2 separate regions of the Homo sapiens genome follow, and region 2 is linked to region 1. Evidence: promoter capture Hi-C in human tissues and cell types (Jung and others, 2019). All regions are on one chromosome and are shown on one strand. The core of a region is centred on a gene start or on the middle of the fragment in contact, and the rest is flanking DNA. Distances in the headings are between cores, read along the strand shown. Region 1 holds the start of CPT2 (carnitine palmitoyltransferase 2). Region 2 has its middle 4.1 kb from the start of PODN.

Region 1 (6,049 bases), core at 1,536-4,035:
TTGGGTGGTCACATTTGTTTTCTTTGGTCATACTTACCCAACTGGACCTCTTTTTTGTTGAAATGTGAACTCTACTGCTAGCCAGTTAAAGTTCATTGTTTTTCAGAACTTTGATTTTGAAGATGAATATGACTTTAACCTGGCCATCATGTACTGCTTTTTCATAGTTAATTCAAAACAGAGCAGAACTCTGGGGATTAGTTCAATAGAAACAATGTATTCTTCAGGATCTTTCTCTAAGTAGAGGAACTTTCTTGACCCTTACACAGCAATATATGGACTTTTTGGACTACCAGCTCATGGTTATTCTTAATGTGATCCAGACCCCAGGGCCATCCCCAGGAAAAGGAAGCAAAGCACCTCCCCACAGTAGGCCTGTGCTAGACACAGTGGACACACAGTGGAAACAAGGTCCCTGCCCAAAGACCTCAAAATTTATTGTGAGAGATGAATTGGTAATTAAATAGCTGATTATTTTAAAAGCCCTAATACAGTTGTGTTTCATGTACATAACTGTAAATGAATGTAAAAAGTGCTGTAAAATCACAGTGGGAGGGATTCATTCTTGCAGTGAGGAAGAAGGATGAGGATTGAGGAAGACTTCAAAGAGGTGAGTTTTGAAATAGGGTTTGAAGGACAAGTAAGAGTTTACTAGGCAGAGATGCATGGAAAGAACATTCCAGGCAGCAGAGACAGCTAAAATAAATAAATAAATAAGTCGCAGAGTAAGGAAAAGGATGGGAATGAGAAGTGGTTCAGTGTTACTACAGCATAGAGCAAGCTTGTCCAACCCACAGCTCAGGATGGCTTTGAATGAGGCCAACACAAATTAGTAAACTTTATTAAAATATGAGATATTTTTACAATTTTGTTTTGTTTTTGCTTATTAGCTATCATTAGTATTAGTGTATTTTATGTGTGGCCCAAGACAATTCTTCTTCCAGTGTGGCTCAGGGAAGTCAAAAGATTGGACACCCCTGGCATAGAGTATTTTGGGGTGACATGATGGGAGCTGGAGAAGTAGGTAGGGGTCAGAATTCAGAAGGCCTTGGACACCAGCCTAAAGGCTTAGAGTTGCTCCCATTGGCCATGCACTCACCAAAGGTGTTCACGTCCCTCTTTTGGCTGTTAGATTGGATGGGCTCAATCTTTTGGCCCTCTGTCTCTAGAATAGAGCCGCTGCTTTTCTACTGGGCCCACTATTTCTTCCTGGTCCTCTGATCCCCTTAGCACTACACAGATCTCGATATTTGCCTCGGGTATCAAGGCTCTGAAAATGATCAGGATTTAGAGGAGATGGCTCATTTTCAGAAAGAGTTTTATATTCTCCCTCTGGCCTTATACACTACAGGCAAATGGCACCGATGTTTTGGAGTTGGGCCAGTTGGGCCTTTTCTCCCCTCAAGAGAGGAGGATTCGATATTCAGTGTTTCTGAATTTCATGCTTAGTTCTTAAGCCATTTCCCATTTGCCCTAAGAAATAAGAGCTGGCAGCAAGCTGCGCTGTTTTTTTCTAAACGGGAAATGGGTTAAGCATTTGTGATCACCACTGAATGAGTGCCAGAGCTGGTTAGTGATCTTCCTGTTCAATCCGAGGTCACCTAACTAGATAACAAAGAGCTGAAACTAAAAGTCCGGTCTCCTGACTCCCAATCCAGTACTCTTTCTGGTGTGCTCCAGCTTCTGGCTCTGCTTAGCCAATTATGGAACAGACAGAATGTACTTGGCTGCCCCAAACGGCTAAAGGGCAGTTCTGTTCCCAAAATGGAATTCTGTTGTGCCTCAAGCTAGGCAGCATAATTGTGTGTCTTTTGGTAACTCCCTGTCTTCTTCTGTAAAATGGGAGTAGAGCCTACTTAATCCTGCAGCTACTTCTAAGATCAGGGATTGGGGCGTGGTGGGCTGTTCTGCAGCTGTTTTGTGATGGATGAGGGATGATAGATCTATGTTCAAGTAGCGGAATCTTAGAGTCAGGAGTTGGAAGGAATCTTGGAGGTGGTCTGTGGTGACAGGAAGCCTCTTCCAATAGACTGAACACGGAAGACTTCCTAGAGCCGGAGGACAAGGGTTTCTTTCCTCTTAGCAGTGAGCTTCTTGTTTTTGGAAATGCTCAAGCCAAGAATGGATGTTCAGGCAGAGGGGATTCCGCTCGGAAGGGGCTTTCTGCACTGAAGTGGTGGCCAGCGGGAAACTCCAGGTTTCCAACTCCTGCACAAATCCTTTCTAATATCCATCCACTCAGGTGAGCTGGCAGGGCAGTAGCTGTGCAGGGTTCAGGGTCATTATATGTCAATGACCTTCAGCACGGATTACTAACAACAGTAACATCCGTTACCGTTTACTGCTTTCCTATTAAGCACCATGCACTGTGCATAACATGTTATCTTTATCTCATATCTAGAATTTTGGGAGGTACTTTGAATCATTACGATCTATCTACTTCTTAGGTGAGGAAATAGAGGTTTAAAATTTAGTCCACAGTCTCGCAAGGATGGAGCCTGGATCAAATTTTGGGTTATCAGATTCCAATCACGTTTCTTAGCTTTTCTTTTTTTTTTCCAACTCCAGTTTCTGTCTTGCTCCAAAAAAGGGGAAGGAGCGGCTGCGGCGCTCGGTTTCCCGCCTCCTAGGGAAGGGAAGGGAGACGAGCAGCGCGGAGGCTGGGGCCCCCTTCCGGGCGGGGCCTACTAGTGGGCGGGGCCTGTCAGTGAGCGGCCCCTGCCCGGAAGGAGCCAGTCCGGGGCGGAGCCGATGGCCTTACAGGGGCCGGAAGTGGCCTGCGGGCGGAGAAGTGCCTCAGGAGTCCTGACGCAGTGTCTTGGGCGCTAACGGCGGCGGCGGCCTTGTGTTTAGACTCCAGAACTCCCCACTTGCCGCGTTCTCGCCGCCGCAGGCTCCCGGGACGATGGTGCCCCGCCTGCTGCTGCGCGCCTGGCCCCGGGGCCCCGCGGTTGGTCCGGGAGCCCCCAGTCGGCCCCTCAGCGCCGGCTCCGGGCCCGGCCAGTACCTGCAGCGCAGCATCGTGCCCACCATGCACTACCAGGACAGCCTGCCCAGGTGAGCCTGGCCTCCGGGTCCCCGCCGCCCGCCGCCGTCCCAGGATCGGCCCCAACCTGACTGCAGTCACTCATGACTCCTCTAGTGAACCCGTTTCCGCCCCCAAGCCCCTACCATGGAGGCTGCCACAGCCCCTAATCTGGAAGTCTTGGGACTTTTCACAATCTCCTAGCACAGGAACCTCAGAACCCTCAAATTCTCTTCCAGAACCCCTCGATGCTATCTCAGATTCTCCATCTTGAACGCTTCTCAGATTCCCTCTCCTTTAACCTAACTTCCAGCCAGCTATCCTGAGTCCTCTTCTCCCTGAAAAATGCCAGACCTGCATATTTCCAGCGCCGCTGTAATCCCTCGACTATGGTGTCTCCTGAAGTACTTTAATGACTGCCTCACATTCCTACCCGGAATATGGGTAGGCTGATTCCTAATACATCATGGTTACCATTCCTTAACTTCTCCCAGCACCGCCTTCACCCCTGTCACTCAGGACCCTCAGCCCCACCTCCCATTTCTCCAGTACTCTGTTCTTTCACCCCCCATGAGCCCCCACAAGCACAGCCCTGAAGTGTTCACCCTTGTCCTCAACTGACCCTCCCCCATGTTTTTAAATCTTTAATCTCCTAAATCCAGTGTTCACCCGGAAACCTTTCACTCTCTCCAAGCCCTCCTCAACAGGTTCCTCCCCTCAAAATATCCTTCCTCACCCACAGTACCCCTTGTAAGTGCAGCTCACCCTCACAGAATTCTAGACACCACCCTCAGTACCCCATCCACACTCCATCATACTCAGATCCAGGGTCCACCCAAATTTCTCTTCTCCTCCTCACCACTGGCTACCCTGCCTTCGAAACACTTCACCCAGAATCGACTTCCCCTCTGAAAAGAGCCCTAGTAAATCCTCTTCCCCTTCCCTCCCCCAGTACTTTCTTAAATCCAGCTTCCAGTTCTTCCAGCCTTCGAACTCCGCTTTCGTCTGAGTTGCCAGATCTCCTTCTTCAATATTAGAAATTTTCTTCACCCTCTAAACCAAACCTAAACTAACTTCTAACTTACTGAGTGAGTAACTCAGTTCCTGGAGCCAAGTTCAAAATTTGTCTCAAAGACCCTTCTCACCTTATTTCTCACCAAACTGCCCTCAGGGATTCCCCACACTCCAAGAGCTAGAGGCCAGGCTTCTTCCCCATGTGTGGAACATTGTGTCACAGGCCTCACCCGAGCTGCTGGGTTGTTTTTCTCTGCATCTGGGACCACTTAACCCAACGTCATCACTACATACCCTCACCCTCTCAGGAGGATCGAGTGATTCTTGTGAAATTACATTTTGTGCAAACATCTAAGACATGAAAATGAGATTATCTACACGTGGCAGGAGGGAGGAAGAAAAAGGGGCTTTGTGCCTGTGGCATAAGCCTGGTACATGCTTCCACCCTGTCAACCTGTGTGTATGAGCTGAGCCAGTATATGGGTGAAAGGTGAGGACTGACAGAACCTGTCTTCACTTGCCAAGTTCAGAGTCAGATGGTCACTGACTTTCAGGCAGGCCTGGGCCCCACCCAGGTTTAAGATCAGAGGGATTTTCTGCACTTTAGAATTGGAAAGCTGGAAAGAATATTCAAGATTATTTATTCCAACCCCATCCATAGCACAGTCTGTAGGAATCTGGAGGTACCAATTCAAACTCCAGTTCAAATAGTACCACTAGTCACCTACGCATAACCTTAAGCAACCAACCTCCCCCAGACCTCCATTACCTTATTTGTAAATTGGGAGTTAGATGAGAGATGAGATTCCTTCTGTCGCTCAGATTCTAGACTGGTAAAATGTATAATCTTTCACACTCACTCATTGATGTCACACTTGGTGAAAAGCCCTGACTTTGAGGTCTGGTAGAATGTAGTTGCAGATTCTGGATCTGCAAGTCTTTAGCTATAATTTGGGGCAATTCTGTTCACTTCATTGAGCCACAGTTTTATTTTGGTTTTTTTGAGACAGTCTCGCTCTGTTGCCCAGGCTGGAGTGCAGTGGCCCTATCTCGGCTCACTGCAACTTCTGCCTCCCGGGTTCAAAGGATCCTCCCGCCTCAGCCTCCCAAGTAGCTGGGATTACAAGCATGTGCCACCACACCCAGCTAATTTTTGTATTTTTAGTAGAGATGGAGTTTCACCATGTTGGCCAGGCTGGTCTCAATCTCCTGACCTCAAGTGATCTGCTCTTGGCCTCCCATCTGGGACCACAGGCATGCACCATCATGCCTGGCTGATTTTTTGTATCTTTTATAGAGACAGGGTTTCGCCATGTTGCCCAGGCTGGTCTTGAACTCCTGGACTCGAGCAATCTGCCTGCCTCGGCCTCCCAAAGTGCTGGGATTACAGGTGTGAACCACCGTGCCCAGCTTCACTCCAGAAATTTTTAAGTAGGACTTTTTTAAATCAAATTGCCATTGTCTCTAATCTAGAATTTTGTTTAAAAGGAAGAAGGTAAACTTTCATGAATATTCCTACTGTAATAAAACTAAATCTTAAACATATGTAGGCAACTGGAATTATGAGGTAGCTGAGATAGTATTTGGAATTTTTCTGAGTAAGTCAGTGAATGTAAGGGGATCTGTGGTGTTAAAGTGTTGTAAATGGGTACTTAGTGCAGTCTAAGTCCATAATGGCAGTAAATAATTGATTTATTTTTGTCATATTATGGATAAACATGCATTACAAATAAACTGATGAACCACAGTATATCTTATATTAGGCTTTTAAACTGCTTTATGTATCATGTTTCAGTTTTCCTAAATGACTGATACATTTCAGTATTTTGCATATCAGTGTTAATTTTGAGTTGGTAGAGGCAGCCTAACAAACTCTGATTGTTTTGCTATTAGGGGATATTTCCTTCAATAAAACCAATGAATTGAAAGAGAAAATACACCTCACTTTACTGTCCATGTGTTTTCATTTCACAATAAGCCAGTAACTTCATCACCATAGCCATCTTTGGG
Region 2 (6,049 bases), core at 956-3,455, 140 kb before region 1:
TGGGAGCCTGAGGTAGGCTGATCACATGAGGCCAAGAGTTCAAGACCAGCCTGGCCAACATGGTGAAACCCCATCTTTACTAAAAATTTAAAAATTAACCGGGTGTGGTGGCGCACGCCTGTAATCCCAGCTACTCGGGAGGCTGAGGCATGAGAATCTCTTGAGCCAGGAGATCACTGCCACTGCACTCCAGCCTGGGCGACAGAGTGAGACCCTGTCTTAAATAAATAAATAAATAAAAAGTTGCCTGGTGGGTTCTTTCTGCATTAAAATCATTAGTCTTGTTGCTGTACTTTTTCAGATGAATTCACACTCTCGGATTTCTACAATTTTTGTTGGATGTGTAGAGGAAAAATAATGGAAAGCATTGCTAGCATGTCAAGTCCATGTAGAGGTGGGGGTATGACAAAGGAGTCACTGAGGAATTTCAGGTCAAAAAGTCCTGTCTCTGCCTCCTGGAAGCTAAGTTAGGGTAAGGCATTTAAGCCTCACCAGCATTTAGTTTTAGTTTCTGCCTCTGCAAAGGAGGGACACTGTTGAATTTTTTTTTTTTTTTACAGTCAGTCTCATTAGACTGTATACATCTTGAATGCAGTAACTCTGTTACTCATCTCTGTGTCTCTAGTATTAATGCAGTGTCCACCAGAGCAGCATCAATAACTGTTTCTCGGACAAATAAGGGTTAGACAATGATCATTAATGGTATTTTTAAATTGTAAAATACTTTGTGAAAGGGTCAATCACATATAAATATAAGTTCCCTCTGTTTTCCCCACATATGTCATCTTAGAAAAAAAATGAAATTAAATCCTACAATTAACAGCTTTATCTTCTGAAACTTTAGCAGTCTCAGAAAACAGTACATTTGGCTGGGCACAGTGGCTCACACCTGTAATCCCAGCACTTTGGGAGGCTGAGGCGGGCGGATCACCTGAGGTCAGGAGATCGAGTGCATCCTGGCTAACATCGTGAAACCCCGTCTCTACTAAAAATACAAAAAATTCGCCAGGTGTGGTGGCACGTGCCTGTAGTCCCAGCTACTTGGGAGGCTGAGGCAGGAGAATCACTTGTACCCGGAAGGTGGAGGTTGCAGTGAGCCGAGATCATGCCACTGCACTCCAACTTGGGCAACAGAGCAAGATGCTGTCTGAAAAGAAAGAAAGAAAGAAAATAGTACATTTAGAACAGCCTGGTATAATGGGAAAACTTTGGGGCCCATCAGATGTGAGTTTTGTTTCTACCTTTGGCACTTACACAACTTTGGGACCACCTTGAGCTAATAACAAGGAAAGACTCTGAGACTTTCTCCCTCTGTGAAAAGGGACTCATAATGTCTGCCTTCCTGGTTGTTAGGAAGATGAGCAATTGCAGTTGTAATATGTCAAGCACATAGTAGGTACTGAGTAGATGCTGCAAAATGTTATTTAAGGAATTTTTTAACATGAAATTTATTCATTGGAACATTTTGTGATAATCTTTTTTTTTTTTGAGACAGAGTCTTGCTCTGTCACCCAGGCTGGAGTGCAGTGGTGCAATCACTGCTCACTGCAACCTCCGCCTCCCTGGTTCAAGCAATTCCCCTGCCTCAGCCTCCCAAGTAGCTGGGACTACAGGCGTGCACCACCACACTCAGCTAATTTTTTGTATTTTTTTAGTAGAGATGGGGTTTCACCATGTTGGCCAGGATGTTCTCGATTTCCTGACCTTGTGATCCTCCCACCTTCTGCCTCCCCAAAGTGCTGGGATTACAGGCGTGAGCCACCATGCCTGGCCCATGATAATCATTTGAGTTCACATAATCAGCTGGCTTCAGAATGAGGACAATTTGCTTTTATTAACTGTTTACATCCTTATGTTTTCCTCAAGAACCATTAAAATTTAATGGTCTCTATACTTAAGTGAATGGATATAGAATTATTTAGTTTGACTTTCAGAAGGTTTGCATTTTAGCCGAAGATTTAATTCTAGCTGCCCATGCCATGATTACTTTTTGAACAGAAAGAAGTCACTTGATGTTATTGACTAGGAAAAAAAATGGTAATCAGCCAGATGGTACCTCTGGGCAAATTACTCTGTGGGAGTAAGCTTGTTTAGAAACCACACTGATATGAATTAGGAATGTTGAGTATGGTACTAAACAGCTAATGAGGGGCCTGAAAGATTTATGAGCTATTAGGAACCACAGCCATATCTGGCCAAATTTTAGAGTTTTTCTCAATAGAGAGTTACAAAATCTTCTGGAACAGTCTCGTATTATATCTATCTGGAGACTGCTGCGAACAAACAGCTCTTTAGTTCTTGGTAAGAACAAAGAATATTGGGCCAGATTTCTGGCCCCTAAGAAATGTGGAGTCTGTTCCATTTGGCTGGAAGTTTAGTTTGGTATGGAATTTTAGCCAGACTTCTAGGGGAAATAATTTTTTAAAAATGTAATGAAAGCTTATTGCAAAAAGTCATGTGCATTTGGTCTATCTATTCTATTAATGGTCATTTAAACACTTTGTAAATATTCACAGTACTGTTTCCAGCAGCATGTAGTAAGTGCTTGACCTTTTTGTTTCTGAATTTATGGCCATAAACTTTTATGTAGAACTGGGGGAAATTGTAGTCTGCTGTTTATTTAAATTGCAGATAGTTGTCTAACCAACTACCAAACAGTGATTTTTTTTCTCTCTCTGGAAGTTGTTGTGTGATTCACCTTTTAGAATATGGCACCTTCTGTTGTGTACAGAGCACTCTGTTCAAGATTAGACACTTTATTAGAACAGAAATAGAAAATAACTTGACACGAAGACACAGTAGTATAGGAACAATTGACTAGGCAGGCTGAAAGAAGACTTAAGCTTGGCAAAATGATACCCAAACGCAGGGTGTGATATCAGTTCACGAATATTCGAGAGATGGAAAGACCAAAGAGGGAGAGGAATTATTTTGCTTAGTTATTAGAAGTAAGGGGAAGGAATATAGAAAGAGAAATTTCAGACTGAATACCATTGAATTTCCAGACAATAAAAATCGGTCATGAGTGGACTAGAAGCTCCAACCACAGAGATGCTTCTAGACCCACAAGGCAAAAACAGGGCATTTCATTGTGGGAGATGTACCTTAATAGTGGCTGAAAGATCATCTGAACAGGAGAAAGTGGTATTTCATTGACAGCCGCTCTTGAGGGTTTCTCCGTTTGCAGTTACCAAAATCTTTTTTTCTTCTATATGCTAGAAAGAAGACTTGAGATCTTTTTGCTTACTTGTTTATACCCTGACTGGTTCATAACTTAATTTGGAAGAAACATGACATACCTTTGGAAGAAACAGTCTTCAAAAGAAATGAGAATTCAAAAGCTTCAAGTTTTTGTAGTATGAAAGTAGTCTGAATTTGTTTTTTGTCTTTTTTTCATCCATTTTTATTTAGCTTAAGGTAACAGCTAGTTGGCTGGCTACAGTGTGGGAGACAACTCTCACTGGAGTTGGAACCTGAAGACTGAGTTTGAATTCTGACTCAAGCACTCATTAGCTGGGTCACCTGAGCAAGTTGCATATCCTCCCTGAGCACCCCTTTTCCAAAATAATGGGGCAATAATACCATCATGTTTGCTGTGAAGATCAAGTGAAACAGTGTGTGGGAAAGTGTGTACCAGTTTTAGTTATTCATGTTTGTTTTATTTTCTATTGTTGATGAAACAAATGATCACAAAGTAGTGATCATAAATTTATTATCTAACGGTTCTGTAGCCTAGAAGTCTGGTTGAGTTTGACTGGTTTCTTTGCTCTGGGTCTCACAAGGCTGAAGTCAAAGTATTGCTGCCCTGGGCTCCTATCTAGAGGCTCCAGGGGAGAAGGTGGCTCTGCTCCCACATTCATTCAGATGCTGGCAGAATTCTGTTTCATGCCGCTGTAGGACTGAAGTCCCTGTACCATTCCTGGCAGCCTACGGGTGTTTCACTTTCTAGAGGCTGCCTTATTCCCTAGCTTATGACCCTCTTCATCTTTAAAGCTAGTCAAGTCCTTCTGATGTTTCAAATCTCTCTGACCTCCTCTTCTGCTTCATCTTCTCTCTCTCCAGCTAGAGAAAGTTCTCTGTTTTTTAGGGCTCATGTGATTAGGCCCACCAGGGTAATCCAGAATATGCTCCCTATTTTGAAGTCCGTAACCTTAGTTACATCTGCAAAGTCACTTTCATCATGTAACATATCCAAAGGTTTTAGGGATTAAGGTGTGGATATCTTTGGGGCGGGGTTGGGGGGTATTCTGCCTATCACAGTGGTATTTTAGGGTGAGAGAGGAGAGCTTGCAGAACATGAGATTCTTGCCCTGGAGGACTCACAATCCAGTGGGAGAAAGAGGAAAAACAGCAAGAAAGTTCCAATAATAAAGAGTCTGTATGAGATGTTATAGCAGCCCAGGAGACTCCTTGTGTACTTGACTTGGACTGAAGATTTTTCATTATTCTCTTCTTGTTCCCTGGAGAGTCTTGCCTTCATCAAGGTCCTTCAGATGGAATTCATATACCCCAAACACCACCATGTGATTTGATTCCTTAAATGTCCAGAAAATCAAGCTGCTGCCATAGCTATTTGGGACTCTACTGCTTAATAAGATCTCAGCCCTCAGCTCAAAGTAGGAGGAATTATTTTCTTCTTTGATGATGAGGCATAACAAGAGCTCATTGTTCCTCATCTCCTGTTTCTCATCATCAAACCCCACTGAGAGCCTTCTTGTTCTTTACTCCTAGCTCTCTCTACCGTATCAATGTATGTCTTTCCTCCCTCCTCTTTGGAGTGTTCTTGTTTCTTATTGTTTTGAATTAGAAGGCACTTTCCCTGGGCAGTACAGAGGTTACTGTTTAATTCTTGCCACTTGTCATTTCTATTTTAATAATGTTTCCTGGCTATTTGGTCAGGTCTGGGTGATAGTTTTGCAGTAATAGCTACCATTTACTGAGCACTTACCATGTGACAGGTACTATGTAAAGTTCTGTACTTGCATTCTCCAATTTAGACATACTGTGAAGTGTAGGTACTATTTTTATATTCATTTGAACCTAGCTAGGATTTGAACCCAGCTCCAAGCTTAAAGCTTGTACTTGACACTATGTACTTCAGTAATATCAAACAGGAGCTGAAATTGAGGGGCAGCATGAAGGAATTGAAGCAGCACAAGTAGATTCAGGAAACCTCAATTTCAAACTCTGCCTTTACAATCCTTCTGAAAGAGGATTTGCTTCTAGAGCACCAAGGTTGCCTCCATTTTTCCACCAGAGACACTCAAAGTGATTCCTCCTGCAGCTTGTATCTATAGTAGCAGCCAACCACAAAGCACACATGGGCATTTGCTCAGCATTCCATAGAAAAGCCTATTTCTCTGGGAGGTGGTGGGTACTGGGTGTGTGGTGTGCCGTGTAGCGGGCCCCTGAAACACCTTGGCCTTAGCAGTTATAAGTATAGAGAATATCTTCCCCACAGGGCTAGGATGATTAAGATATTTTAAGGATTTAGGATGGTGCCTGTCATTTATTAGGCACTCAATATGTGCTGGCTCTCATTGTCCTAAAAGATTTTTAGTCCATGAGTATTCAAGCTAGTAGAATCCTGTCCTTTTAGCTCTACTTGAATCTAGGCTCAATGTTCAGGAGAAGACACGAGATGCATCTCTGTTGGTCCAGGTCCAATGCTGTGAATCACACCAACTCTTGTGAGTTTGAGCTCCAAAAGGACTGGAATTTGAGGCCAAAGAAGGCAAAATATTTTCCCTCCCCATTCTTGCTAAGTTCTTGGGTTGTTGGTGTAATGGAAACAGACAGTCCTGGGTTCAAATCTAGACTCTACATTTGCCTGCTCAAGTTACCTGCCTGTTTCCATCATGGGAAGAACTTGGGCTGTGGAGAAGGGTAAACCTGGGGTCAAAACCCCAGCTCTGCCAGTGAATGGGCATTTTACTCAGTCAAGTATCCTTTCTGAGGCCATCTCTTTTCTATAAAGTGGGGCAGCAGCAGTTCTTCCTTTGCGGAGTTGTGAAGCAGAGCATAATGCATATGGTATAACCTCACGGGG

The links. Contacts are between HindIII fragments. The study calls those that stand out against the background at their distance.
Region 2: a fragment that was not itself captured here is called in contact with the fragment with the promoter of CPT2 in region 1 in 1 of the 25 tissues and cell types used here (hippocampus).

The regions. Positions count from the first base shown.
Region 1 is chr1:53,194,039-53,200,087 of GRCh38, forward strand. CPT2 (carnitine palmitoyltransferase 2) reads left to right here and starts at 2,786. Exons shown (of 5, transcript NM_000098.3): 1 at 2,786-3,057. The coding sequence starts at 2,906. RefSeq lists a silencer at 2,770-3,129. The HindIII fragment of the contact is 8,890 bases long and covers 1-6,049 here.
Region 2 is chr1:53,055,112-53,061,160 of GRCh38, forward strand. No RefSeq gene overlaps it. Among named protein-coding and RNA genes, the nearest start is that of PODN, 4.1 kb to the right of the region's middle. The HindIII fragment of the contact is 3,998 bases long and covers 207-4,204 here.